2 separate regions of the Homo sapiens genome follow, and region 2 is linked to region 1. Evidence: promoter capture Hi-C in 16 types of primary human blood cells and fetal thymus (Javierre and others, 2016). All regions are on one chromosome and are shown on one strand. The core of a region is centred on a gene start or on the middle of the fragment in contact, and the rest is flanking DNA. Distances in the headings are between cores, read along the strand shown.

Region 1 (5,890 bases), core at 880-3,379:
TCAAGATGTCACTTAGTAGGTGACTGAATAAATAAACTAGTACATCCAGACAATGCAATATTATTCAGGGCTAAAATAAAATGAGATCCCAACCCATGAAAAAAACATGGAAGAACCTTAAATGCATATTTGAGTAAAAGAAACCATTCTGACCGCCAGGTGCAGTGGCTCACGCCTTCAATACCAGCACTTTGGGAGGTTGAGGCGGGTGGACATTATACGTCATTATATATTTGTCAAAACCCGTAGAAGACACAACACCTAGAGTGAACCTTAATGTAAACTATGGACTTTGGGTAATACTGTGGTGTCAATGTAGGTTAACAGATTATAATTAAAGTACAACTTTAATGTGGGGTGTCAATAGTGGGGAAGGCAGGTGAAATGCTCTATACTTTCTGCTAAGTTTTGCTGCGAACCTAAAACTGCTCTAAAAAATAAAGCATATAAAAGGAAAAATTTGGCCGGGCGTGGTGGCTCACGCCTGTAATCGCAGCACTTTGGGAGGCCGAGGCGGGCGGATCACCAAGTCAGGAGATCGAGACCATCCTGGCTAACATGGTGAAACCCCGTCTCTACCAAAAATACAAAAAATTAGCCGGCCGTTGTGGCGGGCGCCTGCCGTCCCAGCTACTCGGGAGGCTGAGGCAGGAGAATGGAGTGAACCCTGGAGGTGGAGGTTGCAGTGAGTCGAGATCGCACCACTGCACTCCAGCCTGGGCGACAGATCGAGACTCCGTCTCAAAAAAAAGTAAAAAAAAAAATTTTTAAACTGGAACACAGAGGATAAGTAATCCTGCTTCGCCCCTTGCCTCTCGCCCCTGCATGGGGCGAGGAAGGATTGATCAAACCCAGAAAGACTGAGTGAGAATGGATGTTGAACACAGAACTGAAGGATGAATGGGAGTTACCTGAATAGAACCCAGGGGCTTGAATGCAAGAAGAGGCGGGCATTCCAGGCAGAGGAGAGCAAGGGTAAGGGCCCCACGGGAGGCATTCGAGTAGGAGGGTGAACTATGATGACAGAAGACTCAATAACGATCCAAAGAAACCAAATGATTGGGCGCCTTCTTTCGGATCCGTGACTTCCAGCGCCAGGAGTCTCTATTGGCTCTTATACCGTTGCTCTATGGGATAGCAATGTTTTTGTCCTTCAGCCTCCCCTCCAATTGCTGAGCTGCTGGTGTGTTTTGAGGAGTAGAAGGCAAAAAGAACCCTCTTGTTTTTCTTTGGATCTAGAGAGAATCTGAGCAAATGACAAAGCAAATGGGGTAAAATGTCTTTTTGTTTAGTTTTTCCTGATTTTCCCATGAGAGGCAAATACATGTTAAGGATAGTTGAATCTGAGTAAAGGGCATAGAAATATTCCTTACAAGATTTTTGTTGGCAACTGGTCTAAGTATGAAATTATTTCCAAATAGAAAGCTAAAACAAACAAAACAATTGGCCTTGGGAAACTGGACAATCTTGAAGTAATCAAGTAATATTGTTAAGGGACAATCAGTGTTGTGAAAACAACACGGATACACCCCCTCCCTCCCCCTCAAAAAAAAAAACCCTAAATTCAGTTCCCCCGTTGCTAATGTGTGACCCTGGCAAAGTCATCTAAGTCGCTGAGCTTCAGTTCCTCCAACCCAGAGAGTTGTTGCAACGATCAAATGAAAGAATGTCTATTAAAGCCTTTCATGAACTATATTATTGCTGCTACCGTAGAAATGGAAAGTGTGCAACACTAGATCCAAAACTACTTTTGACACTTCTGAGACTGTGGCCGCGCCTCTGTCACCTTCCAAAGGCCACTAGGCCTTTCCTGAGCTGGCATTGGCAACGCACACTCTTGCCCGGCTAACCTTTCCAGGTGGGCGGCGCACTGGCTTCACTGCTCTCCAGGTGGCCGCTGCAGCTGCCCGAGAGCGCAGGCGCAGAGGCAGACCACGTGAGAGCCTGGCCAGGCCTTCCGGCCTAGCCTCACTGTGGCCCCGCCCCTCTCGAACGCCTTCGCGCGATCGCCCTGGAAACGCATTCTCTGCGACCGGCAGCCGCCAATGGGAAGGGAGTGAGTGCCACGAACAGGCCAATAAGGAGGGAGCAGTGCGGGGTTTAAATCTGAGGCTAGGCTGGCTCTTCTCGGCGTGCTGCGGCGGAACGGCTGTTGGTTTCTGCTGGGTGTAGGTCCTTGGCTGGTCGGGCCTCCGGTGTTCTGCTTCTCCCCGCTGAGCTGCTGCCTGGTGAAGAGGAAGCCATGGCGCTCCGAGTCACCAGGGTGAGCCGCTTCGGACTGCGAACTAACGCGGCCTTCTTAGCTGCTGCCTGCTCTCCCTGCCTCGCCTGCGGGAGCCTCCCGAGCGGGAGAGGGCCGCAGGAGCGATTTGGGGAGGAAGGTGGGAGGGGACTCACCAAGAGAGCGCCGAGGTGGGCCCAGGCCTGGTGAGAGAGTGTGGGGGACGATGGATGGAGGGAGGAAGGTGAGAAAGAGAACTGGACGGATATTGGATAAATGTTTTGGGGAGGTGGAGAGTCGACTGGGAACCTTTTGAAAAAGTGATAGAGGGTCCCTGAGTGGGCCCGCCAGCAACTCTGTAACCCCCTTCCCAGAGAGAAGGTGTCTGCAATTGGAGGCTTTTTCGGTTTCCTTTCAAATGTAAATTCTCGGTATTTTAGGGCTGGCCAGGACTAATCAGGGAATCCCTCAATTGGTAAATGTAGAGGTCGGCGGAAACTGACTTGTCACGGCCGCAGAGTAGACTCTGGGACCCATGTTTTCCCTCGGAACCCATTTTTAGTCGGCTTTCTTTCTGGGAACTTCTCCTTGTGCCCCACCTTAATTAACCCTTGACTTACTCGAGCCTTCGTGGATCAGCTCTTAAAGTGGTCTTGCTTCTTTCAGAACTCGAAAATTAATGCTGAAAATAAGGCGAAGATCAACATGGCAGGCGCAAAGCGCGTTCCTACGGCCCCTGCTGCAACCTCCAAGCCCGGACTGAGGCCAAGAACAGCTCTTGGGGACATTGGTAACAAAGTCAGTGAACAACTGCAGGCCAAAATGCCTATGAAGAAGGTAACTCTCTTCCTGACCTAACTTCTGTAAGAGCCCGCCTTCCAACTGTGGCCTTTGATGCAGAAACATTTCATTCTCTCTGTTTCATCTACAGGAAGCAAAACCTTCAGCTACTGGAAAAGTCATTGATAAAAAACTACCAAAACCTCTTGAAAAGGTACCTATGCTGGTGCCAGTGCCAGTGTCTGAGCCAGTGCCAGAGCCAGAACCTGAGCCAGAACCTGAGCCTGTTAAAGAAGAAAAACTTTCGCCTGAGCCTATTTTGGTAAACTTATTCTTACCATTGTAGAGTCTGTTGATTATTTCTTGTCCCTTATTTCACTGATACATGCAAGAGCATTCAAATGAATAGTAATATTAATACCATTTATTGAGTGCTTAGCATGAGGCAAGCTCTGCCTAACATTTTACATGCATTAACTCACATAATCTTTACACGTACTCTCTGAGGTATTGTCACCTCTACTATTTAAATCATGGCTTTAGAGAGGTTATGTCAGGGTCACACAGGTAAGTGGCCCATATGGGATTCAAGCTCAGGCTGTCTGGCTTCAGAATCTATGCTTTTAATTGTCAACTGTCTTATATTCCTTCGTTAATGATATTAAGTAGTAGCTGTCTGAGCCAAAGGCTTTGTTATCCAACTACAAGCCATCTCTGCAGAATTTATTGGCGTAAACATAGAATGTTCTCTTGAATTTTTTTACTGCTGCATATGGCTACTAAATAATAAGCCTGTAACATTGGAATATGCAAAGGAGTAAAACAGGAAGAAGGCAACTTTTCAGGGAGTGGTTAAGAAGATGAATTAACACTTAGCCTCAAAAATAATAACTTTTTATTAAATATAAGGTATGTAAATGTATTCTATGATAGACCTACCTGTGAAGGAAAGGTAGGTCATGTAGAGGAGGCTGCTTTGATGAAATTGCAATGAACTGTATTCTGAAGCTCTGTTTTTTTAAACTTAGTTAAAACCAGTTGGGAAAATTATCTGAAAAAAACTTGTTGAGACAGAGTCTGGCTCTGTTGCCCAGGCTGGAGTGCAGTGGCGTGATCTTGGCTCACTGCAACCTCTGCCTCCCAGGTTCAAGCAATTTTCCTGCCTCAGCCTCCCTAGTAGCTGGGATTACAGACGCACGCCACCACGCCCAGCTAATTTTCATATTTTTAGTATAGATGGGGTTTCACCATGTTAGTGTACTCCTGACCTCATGATCCGCCCGCCTCGGCCTCCGAAAGTGCTGGGATTACAGGCGTTAGCCACGGCGCCCAGCCAGTTCAGCTTCTTATATCTAAGGATAAGAGATTGAAAGCTATTGCTTTAGTGTTGAATTTCTGGGCATAGCACATGAAATATGTAGCCAGCACAGTCTTTGGGCATATCAAACTACGTGAGGCTTTCTTGGAAGGCCCATACTGATTCTTACCTTTGCTTTCCCACTTAGTAAGAATGCCTTCCCCACCCTGTCTTTCATTTAGCTAATAACCTTTTCATCCTTGAAAACAGCTCAAGCATCAACTCCTGAAGCTTTCCCAAACTTCCCCCATCTCCACCCCCTGTTCCTAGAATCAGTCTTTTTTTTCCCTTTGAGACAGAGTCTCACTCTGTTGCCCAGACTGGAGTGCAGTGGTGCCATCTTGGCTCACCACAACCTCTGCCTCCCGAGTTCAGTGATTCTCCTGCTTCAGCCTCCCAAGTAGCTGGGGCTACAGGCACATGCCACCATGCTTGGCTAATTTTTGTATTTTTAGTAGAGACGGGGTTTCACTATGTTGGCCAGGCTGGTCTCGAACTCTTGATCTCGTGATCCACCCGCCTCAGCCTCCCAAAGTGCTGGGATTACAGGTGTGAGCCACCATGCCCAGCCTTAGTCTTATTTTTGTTTATTTTTTTTTTCCCAAGACAGAGTCTTGCTCTGTCACCCAGGCTGGAGCACAATGGCACGATCTTGGCTCACTGCAACCTCTACCTCCTGGGTTCAAGCAATTCTCTTGCCTCAGCCTCCTGAGTAGCTGGGATTACAGGTGCCAGCCACCACACCCAGCTAATTTTTTTATTATTTTTTTATTTTTTTATTTTTAGTAGAGATGGAGTTTCACGATGTTGGCCAGGCTGGTCTCGAACTCCTGACCTCGTGATCTGCCTGCCTCGGCCTTCCAAAGTGCTGGGATTACAAGCGTGAGCCACCATGCCCGACCTTATTTCTTTACTTTGTCTACTAAATTCAGAGTCCTTTGAGGATGCCATGAAGTCAATGCCTTGTAGAGTTTGACTTCAAGAAGGTGCTCAATAAATGTTTGAACAATGGGATAAAGGGAGCTTGAAGGAAATGGTTAATGGCGATGAAGTTAGTTAATCCTTAGTAGTCAGGATAGAATTTGTGTTGAGTAGTGAGAAGCAGTTTATATTATGAAATAAAGACTAAAGACTGAATTGTCATTTATTTGGACTAACTTCACATGTTGCTGATAAAAATTAATTACTTCTCAGTTTCCTTTGCAGCAAAGTCTAGAATGTGAATTTATTTGCTTCCAACTTTAAACTGACTCACTCTAAGTTGGCATTTCACTGTTTTTTTTTTTGCCCAGGCTGGAGTAGAATGGCGCAATCATAGCTCACTGTATCCTCAAACTCCTGGGCTCAAGTGATCCTCCTGCCTGGGCCTCCTGAGTAGTTAGGACTGTAGGCAGCTGCCTTCATGCCCAGCTAATTTTTTGTAGAGATGAGTTATTGCTATATTGCCCAGGCTAGTCTGGAACTCATGGTCTCAAAGGATCCTCCCACCTCAGCCACCCAAAGTACTGGGATTACTGGCTTGAGCTGTTATG
Region 2 (5,890 bases), core at 1,017-3,516, 330 kb after region 1:
GCGTGAGCCACGGTGCCTGGCCAGCTTTTCTAGATCTTTAATGATCTTAGTCACCCTCCTGGAGAGGCACATAGTTTAGAATGTGATGTACAAATCAGGTTTTGTTTGTTCTTTTTAATAGCATATTATTCCTAGATATGAGCACTATTTCTGTGAATAAAGTTTGGGATAGGTTGTTAGCTTTTGTTGAAATTCTTACCAAAGAAATGCACCTTTAAAAATGAACCACTTTGGGAGGCCGAGGCGGGCGGATCACGAGGTCAGGAGATCGAGACCATCCCGGCTAAAACGGTGAAACCCCGTCTCTACTAAAAATACAAAAAATTAGCCGGGCGTAGTGGCGGGCGCCTGTAGTCCCAGCTACTTGGGAGGCTGAGGCAGGAGAATGGCGTGAACCCGGGAGGCGGAGCTTGCAGTGAGCCGAGATCCCGCCACTGCACTCCAGCCTGGGCGACAGAGCGAGACTCCGTCTCAAAAAAAAAAAAGAACGATTATTAAATTAGTTCTCCTCTATACTGTACTATGGAATTGACTTTTTAAAAATTCAGTTTATGGCTGGGCATGGTGGCTCATGCCTGTAATCCCAGCACTTTGGGAGGCTGAGGTGGGTGGATCACCTGAGGTCAGGAGTTTGACACCAGCTTGGTTAACATGGTGAAACCCCGTTTCTACTAAAAATGCAAAAATTAGCCTGGCCTGGTGGCATGTGCCAGTAATCTCAGCTACTCAGGAGGCTGAGGTGGGAGAATTGCTTGAACCTGGGAGGTGGAGGTTGCATTGAGCCGAGATCACGCCATTGCATTCCAGGCTGGATGACAGAGCAAGACTCCTGTCTCAAAAAAAAAAAAAATCAGTTTACATTTTAAAAATGACTCATTTATGCCACCAATATAGTCACCCTTCAGTATCTGTGAGAGGTTGCTTCCAGGACCCCCATGATACTAAAATCTGAGGATGCTGAAGTCCTTGTTATAAAATAGCTTTGTATTTGCATATGGCCTAAATGCTCTTGTATACTTTTTTTTTTAATTGTTTTTTTGAGACAGAATCTCACTCCATCATCTAGGCTGGAGTGCAGTGATGCAATTTTGGCCCACTGCAAACTCTGCCTCCTGGGCTCAAGCGATTCTCCTGCCTCAGCCTCCTGAGTAGCTGGGATTACAGGCACCCGGCACAATCCCAGTTAATTTTTGTATTTTTAGTAGAGACAGGGTTTCACCATGTTGGCCAGGCTGGTCTCGAACTCCTGACCTCAAGTGATCCGCCCGTCTTGGGCTCCCAAAGAGCTGGAATTACAGGTGTGAGCCACTGCACCCAGACCTCTTGTAGACTTTAAATAATCTCTAGTTATAATACCGTATACAATGTAAATACTATGTAGAATTGTGATATTGTAGTTTTAAAAATCTATTTTTTGTTTTATTGTTTATTATTTTTTTAGACAGGGTATTACTGTTACTCAGGCTGGAGTATAGTGGCATGATCACTCCAGCCTCAACTTCCTCTGCTCAAGAGATCCTCCCATCTCAGTCTCTTGAGTAGCTGGAACTTACAGGGATGTGCCACCATGCCTGGCTAATTTTAAGAAAAATTTTTTGTGGAGATGGGGTCTTACTATGTTGCTGTGGTCAGTCTTGGACTCCTGGGTTCAAGTGATCTTCCTGCTTCAGCTTCCTAGAGTGTTGGGATTACAGGTGTGAGCCACTGTACCTGCCCTGTAATTTTTAATTTTTTTTTCCCCTGAATATTTTCTGTCTGAGGTTGGTTGAATCAGAATTTAAAACCCATGGATGTGGAGGGTCAGCTGTATTTGAAAATGGATACAATATACCTAAGTGCCTAAGCACTGAAATTTCTTACTTTCAGGATAACCACCTTATGATGAATGCAGTTGCCCATTTTCTTGAAGACTTTTTCTTGTGGTTTTTTTCTTTCTTTTTTTTTTGAGCCGGAGTCTCGCTCCGTCGCCAGGCTGGAGTGCAGTGGCGTGACCTCAGCTCACTGCAACCTCCTCCTCCTGGATTCAAGCGATTCTCCTGCCTCAGCCTCCTGAGTAGCTGGGGCTACAGGCGCGCGCCACCAAGCCCAGCTAATTTTTGTATTTTTTTAGTAGAGACAGGGTTTCACTATGTTGACCAGGATGGTCTTGATCTCTTGACCTCGTGATCCACCCGCCTCGGCCTCCCAAAGTGCTGGGATCACAGGCGTGAACCACTGCGCCCAGCTCTTTAAGACTTTTTCTTATCCCAGTGCAGAGGTCAGGATTATTCCCGCATTTGAGTGCACTTAGAGGAGATAAGGAATTTGTCTCAGATTGCGAGCCAGTAAATGGGGGCTGTTAAAACCACTAGGTTGTTTCAAACTCATCATTCTGACATTACAGAGATCTTGCTTAGTGTTGATGGCCCTAGCCAATGGGTTAGTTATCCTTTCCAGTGTGTTTGGTCAGCTGCAAATCTGGATAAGCGTGTCTCCTCCACTTTGTCTGTGTTTACCAGTGGAGACCTCCCACCAGGTGGACATAAATGGTTCATTCTTTTGTGCTAATTGGGTGCCGTAATCCAGCCCCTTGGGAATCTGCCCACCCACACAAGGATGTGCTCAAGATTTTCAGGATTCTTTCTCTCTGCATTCCCTGAAGAGGAAATAATAAAGGAGAAAATAAAATCCACCAGTTTGGTAACCTTCCCAGAAAAGGAAATGAAGTTGGTGTGGCATGACTTGTTCTTAACGAGCTTTCTTTTCTTTTTTTTTTTTTTGAGACGGAGTTTTGCTCTTTTTGCCCAGGCTGGAGTGCAATGGCGCAATACTGGCTCACTGCGAACTCCGCCTCCCAGGTTCAAGCAATTCTGCTACCTCAGCCTCCCAAGTAGCTGGGTTTACAGGCATGCACCACCACGCCCCTCTAATTTTTTGTATTTTTAGTAGAGATAGGGTTTCACCACATTGGTCAGCTGGTCTTGAACTCCAGACCTCATGTGATCCACCTGCCTCGGCCTCCCAAAGTGCTGGGATTACAGGCATGAGCCACATGATTTGGTTCACAATTTAAAATCCGTGCTTTTGGGGAGACGTGACAACTCTGAATCCTGGAAATAGCAGTTTGAAAAGGGATCTTGTTTGAATTTTTGACAACTTAAGACTGAGTCTGGATTAATTTAGAGTTTCCAAAACTACCACTGAACCTAGAATTTGGGGATATTTGACATTCAGCTTCAGAACTAGGATCCCACATTTAATAGTGCTTAACTTCAGATTTTCTGTTTTACTTTTTTTTTTTAAAGGAGTCTTGCTCTGTCACCCACGCTGGAGTGCAGTGGCACAATCTTGGCTCACTGCAACCTCCACCTCGGGCTCAAGCGATTCTCATGCCTCAGTTTCTCAAGTAGCTGGGATTACAGGCACGTGCCACCATGCCCAGCTAATTTTTGTATTTTTAGTAGAGACGGGGTTTTGCCATGATGGCCAGGCTGGTCTCGAACTCCTGACCTAGGGTGATCCACCTGTCTCCACCTCCCAAGTGCTGGAATTACAGGTGTGAGCCACCTCACCTGGCCTAAATTCAGTATTCCTTAATGTTCTTTTTCTGAAGACAATCTGGACTTTTGCCTTTTTATAGTACCATAACATTTTCGCCTAAATTGCTCATTTGTATGTGTGTTTCACCATTACTAGAATATAGAGAAATTGGCCAGGTGTATTGGCTCATGCCTGTAATCCCAGTACTTTGGGAGGCCAAGGCAGGTGGATAGCTTGAGCTCAGGGGTTTGAGACCAGCCTGGGCAACATGGTGAAACCTTATCTCTACTAAAAATACAAAAATTAGCCAGGCGTGGTGGCATGTGCCTGTAGTCCAGCTACTTGTGAGGCTGAGGCAGGAGGATTGCTTGAGCCTGGGAGGCAGGTTGTAGTGAGCTGAGATGATGGCACTGCATTTCATCCTGGGCAACAGAATGAGACCTTGTCTCAAAAGAAAAAAAAAAAAAGTATAGAGAAATTGACTTGAGTGCTAGTTACAGGGCTGTGTACACTTATGATTTGTGCACTTTTCTCTATGGTATACTTTAAAAGTGGCTTTTAAAAATGTAGAAAAGTCATCTTCCTTCATGTCTTTGGAAAATTATGCTAATTGTGTTGGTGTTATTAACATTCTATATATTTCCATCTTTGAGGATTTATCTAATACATAGTTGGGCAGGGTTTAATTCTGAGAGATTTGAAATACACTGTCCTAAAGGGTATAGAAGAGAGTTGCCAGGTGGGGCGTGGTGGCTCATGCCTGTAATCCCAGCACTTTGGGAGGCCAAGGAGGGCAGATTGCCTGAGCTCAGGAGTTTGACACCAGACTGTGCAACATGGTGAAACCCCATCTTTACTAAAAATACAAACAATTAGCCGGGCGTGGCAGCGTGCGCCTGTAGTCCCAGCTACTCGGGAGGCTGAGGCAGGAGAATCGCTTGAAGCCGGGAGGCGGAGATTGCAGTGAGCTGAGATCATGCCATTGCATTCCATCCTGGTGACAGAGCGAGACTCGGCTCAAAAAAAAAAAAAAGAGTTGCCATTAATTTAAAAAAAAGTTTTAAGAGTCTGAATTGATGTACTGTTGTTAATATATTAATGTATGATTGTACAGACCGTATTAGAAAAGGAAAAAAAATCAGATACTTTAATGTACTCATTATAGATGTTACTCAAGTGTCATTCAGGGATCATACCTTTTAAAGTTACTCTGATACTTTTCCGTTACCTTCAACTTGAAAGCACAAGAGGTTTTGCAGGCAGAGATATCCATGGTCCAATCTGGTTCCTGTAAACATTCAACAAATTATCTGGACGTCTACTATGTGCCAGGCATTGATTTAATCAGTGAACAAAACATGCAAAAATTCCTGCTCACATGGAATTTACCTTCCAGTAGATCTCAAAGTTCCCTACTCTACTAATCACTGGTATAACCTGGAAAGAATTTATTGTTGGTTCAACATAGCTAAGGAGTGGCATGAAGTTCTGTAGCTGATGTGGGAAGTACCTTGCCAGTGTCTCCAGCACTGGGTTTTCTAGAATAATCCTCAAGCTTTATAGGTTAGGGGGTTGTGTGTTTACCACATCTTGCTGAGACTTGTCTTTTTCCTGGAGAGCTCTCAGTGCCCATGGATCCACCTACGGACGTAGGCAGATGACCTCCATCTTCACTTCCTCATGGATGCTAACACCAGATGTGCACTCCCCACAAAAACTGGTGTTTCCCAAATGGAACTCATTGTTTCAAACTAGCATAGTGAAAAGCACATGAAATCATCTGGGTTCAAGTTACATCTGAGTGACTCACTGACATCCATATAACCTTGAGCATATTACTTCACATCTCTTTCTGACCCTCTTTGCATCTGTAAAGTGACTAATCAACCATGGAGGGTCGTTTTGAGGATGAAAGGAGGTTTTATGTAAAGCACCCAGCACGTCGGTAGGTGTCTGATGAATGTTAGTTTCCTTCCTATCTTCTGTCTCCTAAGCTAGTCCTTCATTGTTGCCTCACACCTAGGTTTGCTGCTGCTGACTGTAGGTGCTCCTTTTTACTGTTGACTTTGTCTTTCAAATCTGGTTCAAATCAAACTTACACCTCCCTTGCCGAGAATCACGAACTGGCTCCCTGTTTCCTACCTGAAGGAAGTGAGACACTCCCACTAGACTTTCAAAGCCCTCCCTTTTCTTACTCATCCTCCATCCACTATATTCTTACTGTAACCTTATTTTAAAAGATGACACCATTCCACCATGCTCCCACTTCACTGTTCCATAAGCTAGCCACCTGTGTTATCAGCACCACACCAGCCTGGAAGAGCCAGGACCCCAGCGCTGGCTGTCATACGTCACTCCCACAGGCTCTCCT

Evidence for each region. Contacts are between HindIII fragments. The CHiCAGO score rates a contact against its expected background, and 5 or more counts as called.
Region 2: a contact is called between a fragment that was not itself captured here and the fragment with the promoter of CCNB1 in region 1, in 3 of 17 cell types (neutrophils, erythroblasts and M2 macrophages). The highest score is 6.9, in neutrophils.

What each region holds. Positions count from the first base shown.
Region 1 is chr5:69,165,021-69,170,910 of GRCh38, forward strand. It overlaps CCNB1 (cyclin B1), which reads left to right and starts at 2,130. Exons shown (of 9, transcript NM_031966.4): 1 at 2,130-2,263; 2 at 2,888-3,058; 3 at 3,153-3,323. The coding sequence starts at 2,243. RefSeq lists enhancers at 1,810-2,775, 2,156-2,385. The HindIII fragment of the contact is 10,262 bases long and covers 1-4,587 here.
Region 2 is chr5:69,497,659-69,503,548 of GRCh38, forward strand. All of the region lies in intron 1 of OCLN (occludin), which reads left to right. Among named protein-coding and RNA genes, the nearest start is that of OCLN, 7.8 kb to the left of the region's middle. RefSeq lists an enhancer at 2,124-2,673. The HindIII fragment of the contact is 5,611 bases long and covers 1-5,072 here.